2 separate regions of the Homo sapiens genome follow, and region 1 is linked to region 2. Evidence: promoter capture Hi-C in 16 types of primary human blood cells and fetal thymus (Javierre and others, 2016). All regions are on one chromosome and are shown on one strand. The core of a region is centred on a gene start or on the middle of the fragment in contact, and the rest is flanking DNA. Distances in the headings are between cores, read along the strand shown.

What was found. Contacts are between HindIII fragments. The CHiCAGO score rates a contact against its expected background, and 5 or more counts as called.
Region 1: a contact is called between a fragment that was not itself captured here and the fragment with the promoter of IL17F in region 2, in 1 of 17 cell types (neutrophils). The highest score is 8.5, in neutrophils.

Annotation. Positions count from the first base shown.
Region 1 is chr6:50,829,138-50,836,091 of GRCh38, reverse strand. It overlaps TFAP2B (transcription factor AP-2 beta), which reads right to left. Exons shown (of 7, transcript NM_003221.4): 4 at 1-31. Among named protein-coding and RNA genes, the nearest start is that of TFAP2B, 14 kb to the right of the region's middle. The HindIII fragment of the contact is 4,019 bases long and covers 3,019-6,954 here.
Region 2 is chr6:52,241,161-52,247,725 of GRCh38, reverse strand. It overlaps IL17F (interleukin 17F), which reads left to right and starts at 3,226. Exons shown (of 3, transcript NM_052872.4): 1 at 3,226-3,329. The coding sequence starts at 3,297. It also overlaps the pseudogene SLC25A20P1. The HindIII fragment of the contact is 13,260 bases long and covers 1-5,087 here.

The sequences.
Region 1 (6,954 bases), core at 3,779-6,278, 1.4 Mb after region 2:
AGAGAAGTCACCGATTTGGGAGGAACTGGAACTAGAAAGAGAGAAAAAATTGCCATAAAGGTGACCAAGTTTCGATCCTGATGACCGGCTGATAGAATGTGTCTCTGTGTGAGGCCACAGGACAGACACCAAGTGGAAAGCTGAGGGAGGAAGTGTTTATTCCAGTGGGGCTGCAGTGCGTTCAGAGAGCTGTAAACAAACAGATGGCAAAGCCATACCTCCTCTGGAAACTTACTTCGTGTGTAGACATATGAGTGTCATTTGCTACAGTCCTGCTCACTACCCAAATCAAGAAATCAAACAACCCAGAGTTTGGACTGTGCTGGGAACCAGGCAAATCTTATTCCATCGTGTGCTAACTCTGTGACCTTAGACACCTGACTGACTCTGTCTGAACCTCCTCAGTTTCCTTATCTGTCTCCTGAGGATAATAATGCCTATCTCATTTGGTGCTGAAGCCTGACGGTGATTATCACCATGCGGTGATATAAAATGGTAATTCCAATGGAAACCCCTTCCTCCTTTCCTATTGGACCCAGATCTATGGTCATCACTAGAAAGGATAAGGAGGGTGGACCCCATCAGATACTATGCCCAAGAACAGACAAATAATACCATTGAGCTGGGGAGCTGGGCCCAAAACAGCTGCTCATCTCTTTAAAGTGGGCCCCATTCTTCCCTACATAATAACAACAGATTCATTTAGAAAGGAACCCAAATGCTCATCTTCAGTGAAAGCAATTCTGCAGTGACATGAATTTTGTTTACAAATTAAAGCACCGGCTAGTGATTGTTTGGAACAGTTATGATTTACAACAGGTGCCCTGATCAATCAACCAATCACTCTAATTCATATGAGCGGCGGTCTTGCCTTGCCCCAGTTGTTTCTTTTCGGCAAGTAATTGATAACAAACCGCACTCAAGGTATGTTTTATGCAGAAGTTAATAAGAGTTGACAGCTGGTTGCCACTGCTACCCTGGTGCATTCAGCCTCTCCAGCCTGTATTTCTGCTTAATTGTGTTTCAGTGTCATCTGCATGTCAGAAAGAGGCTAGGCTCAGTGGAACCAGAAGGCTGGGAATGAGGAACAGTCCATCTCCCAGTTCCCTGGCAGTATTTTCCCTTGGACTTCACTGCTTAAGCCCATTTTCTTTATGTAGGTTTTACAGGCCCCTAAACAGGTGGCTATACCTCCTGACTTTCCCTGTAACTTTGCTTCTTCCACTGGGATATGAGGCCTCCAAATCTTCATGGTATTTGTCGATCACCAGTCCAAAAAATCTTTGGAAACATGCATCTGGTGTGAAAAAAGAGGTTTCCAACCCTACCTATTTGATAAAGTCTATCTCACTTTGTAATTGTGTGGGGAAAAGATAGGCTGTTTCTGTCGTCTGGAGCCTAGAACCCTATATATCAAACAAGATGCATAACATCCCTTCTATGGAACAGACTAACCAATACTGTGTATTTCTCTAACAGTTTATTCTCTCTACCACAGATTCCAGTATACAAACCTCCATAGTTGTTTAGAGACTCCTAGAAGCCAGGTTGCTCCCAAATCTTTTATTTACTATGAATTTCATTAGATCCTTTACAAACACCTTGTGGAAAAGAGCTTTATTACAAGAGTGGATGAGGAGACTAAAACATTCCCTTCTGCTACTACCCAGTAGGCATTTTAGGATCTATGGATCTGTCCACAGAGCCCAAGACCTTGTCCCAGATGGATGAATTGATGTTGGCAACAGAGTAAATATTCTGCCCTGTCATGGGGCGGGGACAGGGGATATAGAGAGGTGTTCCTTCTTTTTGATTTCCCTCATTTTCTCATCAGTGAATCTGCTTCCCATTTAAGAATGAATCAATGAAAAGTTGAAGTGTGAATGTTAATCAGATTTGAGTGAGATGTGAAGTTAAAGTCACTTAATAGACAGGTGATTGGTGGGGGCATCTATTTCAGTCTATCTTACTCTTCACAACAGTGCTGATTTCCATAATTCAGACTCATAGTGAAGGCATTAAAAACAAATAATTGACAATCATGGGAGTTGGCATTATGAAAACTTGGAAAAACTTATTTTCCAAAATATAGATGGCCCTTTGTAATTTTAACATGATATGAATTATAGAAATAAATTAGATAAAAATCTCACCTCTATACTTAGCAACATATTTATCTCTAAATACTATTTAGAATATTTTTTTAAATAACAACCAACTCCACTAAGCTGAAAGTACTAAATTCACTTCCTGCTTCCCACAGTGGATAACCAAATACCCACTGAGTATTGGAATCTTACCTGCTTCTCCCTGTCCCAGAAGCTAAACCTCTGGAAAAGCCGGGCCTTTAAAGAAATGTTATAAACCACCCTGTAATTTCACTATTGTTAATTGCCTGATTCACCCGACAAGAGCTATTTCCTTTGGGGAATGTATATTGCTCCCTGCCATGGGTTGAGTACCTTTCTGCATATACATTATCACCTGCATACCCCCAATCCAATCAGCTTCTGTCAGTACACTGCCCTCTCTGGGAAGGTTTTTGTTTTTGTTTTTGTTTTTGTTTTTTCCCCTTCCAGTCAAAGCAAGGACAATGTCAGAAGATGTGCTTTGGACTATATTTCCATTTTCTAATTTAAGTATCACAATTGTGTTCCCAGCCTCCTATCCTCATGTTCTAAACCTCTCTCCTTAGTATTGGTCCCCTAGACCAGATCTGACACATTTCTTGTCCCAACTTTCCTTTAGATCCATAACTCCATCATAATCTACTTTCCCTTCCACTTTCACACCTGCTTAGTTCACCTGATTAACCCCATATTTTACTTTCTTTGTCTTTTCCCTTCTGCTTTCTTCCAGTTTATCAATAAACCCAGAGCTCAACAGGGCCTGGTTGATTTGTTAGTAATTATGAGCACACTGTTCCTGCTCATGGAACCCAGAGATGACTGAGATAGGTTTAAAGCGACAGCAGGAAATAGTAAGGAAATGGGGCATGGCAAAACTCAGCATGAAGCTTTCAGTTCTTTACATGTTTACAATTTTCTGTGCATACATTAGAAGTATTTTTTTCCTCTTCAGTTCCCAGTTGGGTGTCAAGGCCAAGTTCTGGATGTAACACCCACAAAACTCATTCCCCTCCCTTTTTTGCTGCATTATGCTGGGGAGAAGTAAAAAAAGGCTAAAAACAGATCAATATTTCATTAACATGGCTGGAGTTTTATTTAAAAGAGAGGAAAGAAAAATGATTAGAGAAAATACTATTCATTAGTTGACTATAGAAGAGCTAAAGTGTTAATAGGCTAGTTTTTAATCTCTACTCTTTAAACTTAAGTGTGAAATTATAGTTTTGAGAACTTTGTATTTGATTCTATCTGCTGGTGAGGAGAAGGGAAGAAATGAACCTATCTTATAGATTCATAAGGTAAGTACCTTCGAAAGGCACTCTTGACCTAAAGATGTAAATGACATTGGGAAACAACCAGGAGGCTTAGCACTGACTCAAAGTGGCCCCTAAAAGTTAGCACTCTTTTTCTCACCAGCAAAGCACCCTTTCCTCAGATCTAAACACTTCCTCATGTACCTGAGTGTAAAATTTTATTCCACAACTATAGTGCATGTATAAGTGTGGGGACTGAAATTGTGGGGAAAAAAATAATTTCCACAAATAAAGCAGGGATATTAAAAAACTCAAACATCCAGTATTGGCATCTTATAGGGACAGAGTCTAGAAGGCTAAAAGGCTGGAAACTGAGTTGAGTCTCATCACTTACATGGTGTATAGGACCTTGAGAAAGTCATTTATTGTCTCTCTCAGTTTCAGCACTTGGAGTGTTGAAGAAGAATGTCTAACCTACCTGACTTTGAAAGAGTGGCTGCAGTGTTTCTCAGGGTCTCTAGTTGATAAATAGCTATTGGGATCCAAGTCCAACCTGGAAATGGGAACTTCTTCCTTTTGAGAGGAAACTCATACCGTTCAGAGACTCTGACAGACTCTCAGAGCATTTTACCTTCTAGGTCAGAAGAATCCCAACAGAATCAATTGTAATAGAAATTTGGCAATTTCTTTATTTCCCATGAAAGAAAATCCACACCAGTCAAAGTGTTTATGTGGGGAAGGGGCCAGAACTAACGGGAAAGAAAGTGGGAGAGAATGGAGGATGAACTGAAACTAACCAAACAGGATATCCCTAAGACCAATGAAAATGCCCCACAGTCACAACATTTGAACCTTGGATTCCAGCCACGCTAGCCTTTCCAAGAAATCCCAGAATATTTTCTGCTGTCTAAGGTGTTAAACAGATTGCATATTGGCTTCTTATTGCACCAAAAACTTTTTCTTAAAGTTTAGGTGAGCCTTTTTTTGAGTTAAGCAACATGATGGTGGCAGTGATCATTTTTATTAGCTGGGTACACCCTCTTCCTCCCCCCAGATTTCTAATCTTAATGGAACTGAGAGTTAAGAATGATTTTTTAATGTCTCGTTGGATTTTTAGACTGTTAATGTACCGAATCCTTCTCATTATTACTTTATTGATTGCTCATTGACCAGCCCCCTTCAAATCGTATTAACCACCCTCTGCCGGTTTAGATTAGGAGAGTTTAAAAAGCACCTTTCATTACTCCCCCCGCCCACTCCCGCCATGGAGTTGAGACTAGGCAGCTTAATGGGAGCTCTAATGGGGCAGCTAAGAGGAGAGGGGCCACGGTCCCTGCAGATTGCATTAATAGCTCAAAGGGGGCCAATACAGAAAATTAGCCGTAAACGAGCTCTGGAGATCTTCAAATGAAAGAGCCATTTATCACGCTGGCTACCTTCACTCCACTCGTTTGCTCTCTCTACTGGGAACAACTCATTTCCTCTTAACTAAATTACTTCAGAAATGTCAGCTAAGCCCAGATAGCAAACATAACAAGAGAGGGAGCCCATAATCTATGGGGTGACATAAACACAGGTGAAAAATTAGATTGGTTAAATTTTAGAAGGGGCCTTACCATAACTGGAGAAAGAGACATAGAGATAGAGACATGCATCATTTATGCCTAAGTCTTCTAGCTTCATAAACACAGACTCAGAGACCCCCAAACCTAGACCACTTGCCAATCTGTTACTAATGAGGTAGAATTTTTTTTTATCTGCCTAAAAGCCCATTAGAAAATATATTAAGAAACTAAGCCTTCTTCTAGGTGTTGAAATTTAGAATATTTAGTTCACAAGACTTTCTCACCTCTTTTACAAAATTCATCTCTTGGAAACATCTCTCATAATTGGGGAGATGGTGAGCAAAGAGACTAGGGTGCAGGGGAAGGGGCTAATGAACTCACCACAACTTTAAGTGGCTTATACTGAGTTAGAAAAGTAAATCAACCTCGTATTCTTATTTTGCCTATGGCTCTCTAAAGAAAAAAGACATAGGATCTTTTCTTCATGTAATAAAGCAAATATGTCAAATATTAAATAATGCAACTGACCTACCATTTCATCATATTCATACCACACCCTCTGAATCAATTAAAGTAACTGGGATGCTACTTAAATATTTTAAGCTGCACATTTTTTAAAAAGCTGTACATTTGGGGGGACATAAAATGTACTCTTCTGTTTCCAAAAACAGAACCATCAACTTTAGTCATTATTCTCTTTTTCTTATTCCTGGAGACAACCTTGCACATAAATATTCACATTTCACTGACAAACATATACAAGCTCTGAAACCAAAGCATCCCACATCTAAGAAAATCTTCAGCTCTGTTTTGCTAGGCAAGCTAAGTTACAAATATTTTTATTGGACTGGCTATTAATAACATTTCTGATTGGTCATCTGTTGGGCATGTTCCCCTGCCAGCCCAAATGATGTTGCTAGGATACAGAACCCTGAGCTAAGTGGTTCTAGCTTTCCATGAAAAGGGAGGAGGAACTAAAACAAACTGAAAAAAGCCAATGGAGAAGCTCCTCCCCGACCCCACCCTAATCAACCAGCAATTAACCGAAAGAGGAGACCCAAGAGAAAACAGGAAAAGTGAGCTGTCAGTCAGCACAGTTGCAAATTTAAGCACCGAGCCTGGGTATCCTAGCAAACCCAAAAGCTGGCATTAAAAGCCAAAACAATATTATTTGAAGATGAGAGAGAGAGAGAGAGAGATGTTTGAAGCAACCACTAAAATAAATAGTTATGCCCCAAACCTTACTATACTTTAGGATATTCATTCCAAGGCCAAATGGCATCATTGCAAGTACAGCTTCCCCCACCCACCTTTCAAAGCTACTCTTCCTGACTTTGTAAAAGAAGACAATTTAGAATACCTCACCCTGTTTGGAATCCTTATTCCACAACCCTCCTACTATCCCATTTGAGTCTGGATGAATTACTTCCCAAAGAATTTTTTCTTTTAATTGTTTTTGTTGAATGTCAAGTGGCTCAAGTGAATCATAAATGATTGAAAGCTGAGGATTGTTGACACTAAATATAGAGACAGAATTTCTTCGACATCCATGAGAAAGGGTTACAGTATTAAAATTGTATCGTCAAATGCCAGTTCCTGTGATAATTAAAGATTGCACTGTTTACACATTTAAACTCCTAAATTTGTGGCATTTGAGTGACATTCAGGCCTTTTAGCAGCTACACTAATCGCCAGGCATTCTCTCAGTGACTGTCAGAGAAAAGCAGAAAAAATTAAGCAGCTGCAATACACCCAAAATGAGTTATTGTAATTACATTTAATTAGTTTAATTAGTTAATTATTTTGCTTACAGCTGTACAAGAGACTGCAAACATTTGTTAATATCACATGCCCTTTAACAGTATGGGGTGATTCCACAGTCACACTAAATCATGAATGCATATGTAGGAAGATTTAGAAATGTGCATAGGCTGTCTCAGCTTCTCAGGATGCGCATATTTAGCAACAAATTTGGCACAATGAAAAAATAAATAAATAAAAACAACTCAT
Region 2 (6,565 bases), core at 1,977-4,476:
AAAGTGCCTCCAGTGAGAAGCTGAGATTACCTCTTTAATGAGAAACACTTTGGGTGTGGTAGGGCCAACCGTCAACTGGTAGGCAGTATTCTTGCCACAGGTAGTATCTGGTCTAGAAACTACTAGATCTCCAAATCCTCTTAAGGTCCCTTACATTGACAAGAATGAATTCAAGTTGCGAAATGACACACCAACTTATACAAGGTAGAGGATGTCATTAAGGCAACAGTCTCACCAAGTCCATGCGCAGAGCTCTGATCCCACCGTCTCCTCCCCTCATTCTCCAAGTCTGCTTAGTTCTGCCCACTACTCTTCCTTCTCAGCAACAGTTCCAGCATCCAGAAGTCTTGAGCAGCCTTCTGCCTCACAAGTTGGGGGTGGCCCAATTAAGAAACTTCATGGCAACTTCAAGGCCAAGGAAACAGGCTGCATTGGCTGGGAAGGCTCGGGTCATCACTGCATCAGACCCTTTAGACAAGGATGTGATTCCTTCATCCCAGATCAGCTCCCTCAGCACATCTCCAAAACTGTTAGGATATTTCCCAGGAGGTGCGTCTGGAAGGGATACTTGAGCACATCTTGCGGGACTGCCATTGCCCAGTTGAAGATCCCTGCAATGCACCCAGCCACCAGGATTCAAGGCACACTGAGCTCACAGACCCTCTTTCCTTCCGGAGTGAAGATATTTTTTAGCCATTCATTTGTCATGAAATACGTTCCGCTAGCTGGAACGTCTCACATAAGGGTAAGCACGGTCCCTTTGTAGATGCCTCGGATCTGAAACTCCTGGTACAACTTCTTTGCACAGTCCAAGGTTCCAGTGTACTTGGTTTCCCCTGAAGAAGGCTGAAAGTGTAACAAGGACTTGATGGGTTCTCCAGGGGTCGCGATGCCTGTGGTGAATGTACCAGATAACATCCCAGCTGCAAACAGCTGGGGATAGCTGAGCACATCTTCTGGGTGTTTCTGTCATAGTTTCTTCCTCAAACCAAACCCAAAGAAGCACACAGCAAAGATGGGGGTGACACCGATGATAGGGGCAGCCATTCCCTTATATAGCCCTGTGATGTCCCTTCTAAGAGTCTTTGGGAGAGAGTCAAAGGTCCCAGAGTACATGGGAGGCTGTCTAGGCAAACTCGGTGGCTGTGTCTGCAGTCGGACCTTGACAGTGTCCAGAGGGTGCCCCATGAACACCAGGCACATGCCACCAAAGCCACTGGCCAGCAGGTTCTTGAGCAGGCTGATGGGCTTTGGCTGGTCGGCTATGGTCAGTCTGCCTATCCCTCAGTCTGTCAGTTCCTGGGCCGTCCTGGCTCTGCTGCCCCAGCTGCAGTGCCAGGGCTGCCAATCTTGCATTTAAAGGCTTCTACTTGCTAATTAATTTTGGTTAAAAAAAACCATTCTTAGAGATAGCCAAGGTAATGGGCATTTAAGTGTTGCATCAATGTGATTTTACATATATGTATATTTGTCCATGGCTCCTGGTTCATAACTCCCACAGCCCTCGTTATATCCTAAGTGATAAAAATAATAAGCATATCTTTTGTTAGGGTATTTAGCTTTTTTGTCTTTGTTTCCTGAAGCAGCTTCAGACAGCTTCAGAGCAATAAAGGTGAAAAAGACAGTCTTTTATTGTAATGTTGGGGCACTTTAGGCCTAAGAAATAGGCCTCAGAAAAAAGAATCTCCCTCTCTGAACTTCTCCTGCCCACCTTTTCTCCCCAAGACCATAGAAACAGAAAATATCCTGTCATCTAACATCACCCCCCACACCTTTTGTCTTGGAGCTGGCCATAAAGAAATTCTTTGATTTACCTTGTCTAATCATAGGCCATAAGACCCTCAATTCAGGAAGGGTCCTCCCCTCTACCCAGGAGGAAGGAAGGCTGCTCAGAGAGGCCAAGAAAAATCTGAACAGGCAGGCCTGGCTGAATTTCCTCATTCAACCTGTTAATATCAGGTTATACCCTTTTTATCCAATCACATTTGTTTACAGTTTTCCATGTTGTAATCATGTCTGCCCAATGAAGACTCCATAAAAGGCCCAAGAGGATGGGATACAAAGAGCCTTTGGACCGCTGAACTTGTGGAAGTTCTAAGAAAGGTAAACAGTAACTCATCCCTGTGCTGGGAGGGTGGTGCACCCCAGCTCCATGGGAAAGAACACTTCTGTGCTTGTGACCCTTTCAAACCTTGCCCTGTGTACCTTTTCATCTGGCTGTTGACTTGTATCCTTAAAAATATCCTTTAGAATATACTGGTAAATATAAATTAGTGTTCCCTAAGTTTTGTGAGCTGTTCTAACAAATTAATCAAGCCTAATCAAACTCAAGCGGTTTGTGGGAACCTGAACTTGAGGCCAGTCAGTCAGAAGTCCCAGAGGCTTGGACCTGTGATTGGTGCTTAAAGTGGGAGCAGTTTTGTGGGACTGAGCCTTCAGCCTGTGGGATCTGACTCTACCTACCTGGAGATAGCGTCAGAATTGAATTGGATTAGAAGATGCTTAGCTGGCGTTGGATGCAGAATTGATTGCTTGCTGGTTGATGGAGATAAATGCCCACATACATGGTCATGGAAATCTTTTGTGTTGCTGGTTGTGGTGTGAGAGCAGAGGAAAACAGTTTGTTTTATCAACACAATGAATAGTGATTATTTATTAAGCACCAGTAGGAGTCTAACCATGGGGTTAAAAAATAATTAGTTCAGGGAGATAACAAAACTACCAGGGTATATCATTTCTGAATTTTTCACTTATGTCATTCATTTCTTTAGTTTTGTTTTCCCATTCATAAAATGGAGGTAAAGATAGTTTAGTACCAAGGCTCCTCTAAGGATGAGTTTTCTCCCATTTAAATCACGATTCATATTGCGTGACTGGAAAGTAGAACATATGGTCCGTGACAAGGGTGTTGGCAATTTGTGGAAGAACAAAAAAGATTTGACAACAATTTCTAACTTGGTTCATCTCTGTAGTAAATTAAAAATTTTGCTCTGATTTGTGGGCAATGGGGGTGGAAGTAGGGTAGAAGGAAAGAAAAATTTGGTCCTTTTCCTGTCATCCCTTTCTTTAGGGTCCCCCTTTTGTTCCCCTTCGGGAAATGGAATAAAAAAAAAAACCCCTGCATTCGTCAGTAACTCCGGGTCAACCACAACTTAAAGACAGTAAGCAGGTCAATCGAAACAGGGGCAATGATTGCTATAAAACTAACAGGTACTCTCATTGATAGAACACAGGCATACACAGGAAGATACATTCACAGAAAGAGCTTCCTGCACAAAGTAAGCCACCAGCGCAACATGACAGTGAAGACCCTGCATGGCCCAGCCATGGTGAGTAGCAGCAATCATTCTGGTTTAAGGACTGTCATGCCTAGGATTTCAGAAAACAGAATCCTAAGGAATTAGGTTTGATTGGGGTCTTTTTGGAATTACTTCTTAAAAAACAGAGATGACTTTAATTTTGACTCCTGTCTGGTGGAGAAAAAGAAAAAAATAACTAGAAAAGTTATAATGGCATAAAAATGCAGCTCCTGGCCAGGCGTGGTGGCTCATGCCTGTAATCCCAGCACTTTAGGAGGCCAAGGCGGGCGGGTCACATGAGTTCAGGAGTTCGAGACCAGCCTGACCAACATAGCGAAACCCGGTCTCTACTAAAAATACAGAAATTAGGTCGAGCCTGGTGGCTCACGCCTGTAATCCCAGCACTTTGAGAGGCTGAGGTGGGTGGATCACTTGAGGTCAGGGGTTTGAGACCAGCCTGACTAACTTGAAACCCTGTCTCTACTAAAAATACAAAAATTAGCTGGGCATGGGTCAGTTGCCTGTAATCCCAGCTACTCGGGAGGCTGAGGCAGGAGAATGGCTTGAACCTGGGAGGCGGAGGTTGCAATGAGCCAAGATCACGCCACTGCACTCCATCCTGGGTGACATAGCGAGACTCTGTCTCAAAGAAAAAAAAATGCAGCTCCTCACCCAATGGCTTTTGCCCAGGTGGTGTTAGTGTGTGCCCAGGTGGTGTTAGTGTGTGCAGTCCTTGGCATCACAGACAACTAGCATGTTCTTTCCTGTGGCCATCCATTATAGAGTCAGGTTGGCCTGAAATTCTTATCTCATGGTGGGAGCTTGGCCAGCACTTTAGGGATTATGTACATATACATTTTAACCAAGGAAACTGGGGCCTCAAGAGGTTTAATGATTCCCCTGAGATTACAGGAGTGCCCTGGATGGAAGAAATGAAATCACCCAGTGTTGACTTTGGACAGCTCCTAGAGAAGGGAAATTTCCCATGTCTCTGATTGCTATTTATTTATTTTGTACCATCTCATTCTTCTTGGAGGAAAGAGAGATGTTAATGCAATGAAAATCTAGCCCCAGCAGGTCTGGAATCTTGCCTGACATTAGTCAGATAAGGCCTGAGAAGAATTTACTATAGAGGTACATGAAAACAGGGGTTAGGAAATCCCGCATCATATTATTGGCTTAGATAATTTCCTTTTTTTCTCCTTTTACAAGCCATACAACTTAAAAGAGCTTGAATATCATAAAAGGTTCATGGCATATAGCAATGGTATGTTTTATTTTATATTTATGTGTTATTTTAAAGATTACATGTAGCTCAGCAAAGTGCCATATTTAGGGGCATAGGCTTTGATGTCAGGCAGACCTGGCTCCACTGCTTGCTAAATGTAGGATTTTTGGGTAAGTTATTTATCTTCTCTGTGCCTCCGTTTCCTCAACTGTATGGTGGGGATAACAATGGCATCTTTCTCATGGCATTTATTGGGAGGATTAATTAATATCTTTGAGAATAAATGAGTCTATACTCTGTACTGGCAGATTTGTGTATGCTTAATTTTCAGTTAATTTGGCCATTCTAATAAACAACGACTGATAATGATAGAGAAAGCATTCAGTAAGTGTTAACTGTTCATATTAATATTGTTATTATTGTCCTGGAAATTCTGATCAATCCACTGAAGTAGATGGGAATACTTTCCACTTTATACAGATGAACAAAAGCTCAATTAAGCTATTTATTTAACATTGCTGGATACTGTAAGCACAAGAACTGGTACACCAATCTAAGCTTTCTGTCTCCACATACAGTATGCTTTTCTTTGGTTCAGAGGCAAGATTTGTGAATTTAAAGCCATTGCATCCAAGCAATTCTGTTGGGTAGCTTTGTGCTCCATAGCTATTTCTAATTCTAGTTTCCTTAAAGAAATCTGTTGGGTTGTCAGCAAGAAACATAACAGTGCAAGGAGCATTGGAATAGGATTAGAAGTTGAGAGGTGCAGGCAGATAGGACATCTTCAATAAGTAGTTGAGGCAAATTCTCATGGACCTAGAGGTTGGCCAGGTGCATGCTTACATGTGTCCACACATTGCTGGTGAGTATAGAGGATGGATGTTCAGGTTGCTCAGGTGAGCTCACATTAGAGTGAGGTGCAAAGCTAGGCTGAGAAGGTTGTTGTCCTGTTACAGCTCACCTTCACCTGGTGCTTTCCCTTGCCCCTGTCCCCTATTATACAGATTGAGAGCGATATCTATTCATCTGCTTTATAGGTGGCATATAAGAGTTCAAGTCATGCTCTGGATTTCTCTGAGAGGTGCTGTTTAAATCATTCTTAAGAACCAGCAACAGCCTGGTTCAGAGCCCCTGCTCTGTATTACATAACCACTAAAATCTACAGTTTCAGATCAAAAGCTTTGTGGAGCAAATTGGAGTATTTGCAGACATCATCTGATTTCCTGATAACGAGCTATGTGACCTACAACACTTATGCACATCTAGTACAGCTGTCACATTACCTAAAACACTTAGCTCTTCTAATGAGACAAAACTAAGATTAATGTTGGTAATAATAAAAATGACCTTCAATGACAATAGCACTGACTACTGACACCTAGGTTTGAGTCCCCAGACTGGTACTCATAGGCTGGTGAACCCAATCAAGTTATTTATTCCCTCTGGGACAGAACTCTTTCACCTGTCTAATTGGGATAATTAATACTAGCTCTGATTACCTCACCAGGTAGTTGTGAAAATCCAGTGTTTAAAGAGATGTAAAAGAATTTTCTAATATACTCTAAGAATATATAAGCAAATGTAATAATGACTTGTTAGAAGCATTGTAATTATTGCTAAGTCATATAACTCCAATGTATGTATTTAAAAGTTTTCATAATGAAAATTAATAGTGATTCAGTGAGTATGACACAGAAGAGGAAAGAGAAAACACAAAGGAGGAATTTACTTAAGAACCCTAAATATGTGATTGGTAGGCTTGGGAAGTTATCTAAGACCCTCTAATATAAGTTGGCATCTTTTAAAAAAAAAGTCATAGCAGGCCAGGCGCGGTAGCTCAGGCCTGTAATCCCAGCATTTTGGGAGGCCGAGGTGGGCAGATCACTTGAGGTCAGGAGTTCAAGACCAGCCTGACCACATGATGAAACCCTATATCTACTAAAAATACAAAAAATTATCAGGTGTGGTGGCGCACGTATGTAATCCCAGCTACTCGGAAGGCTGAGGCAGGAGAATCGCTTGAACCTGGGAGGCGGAG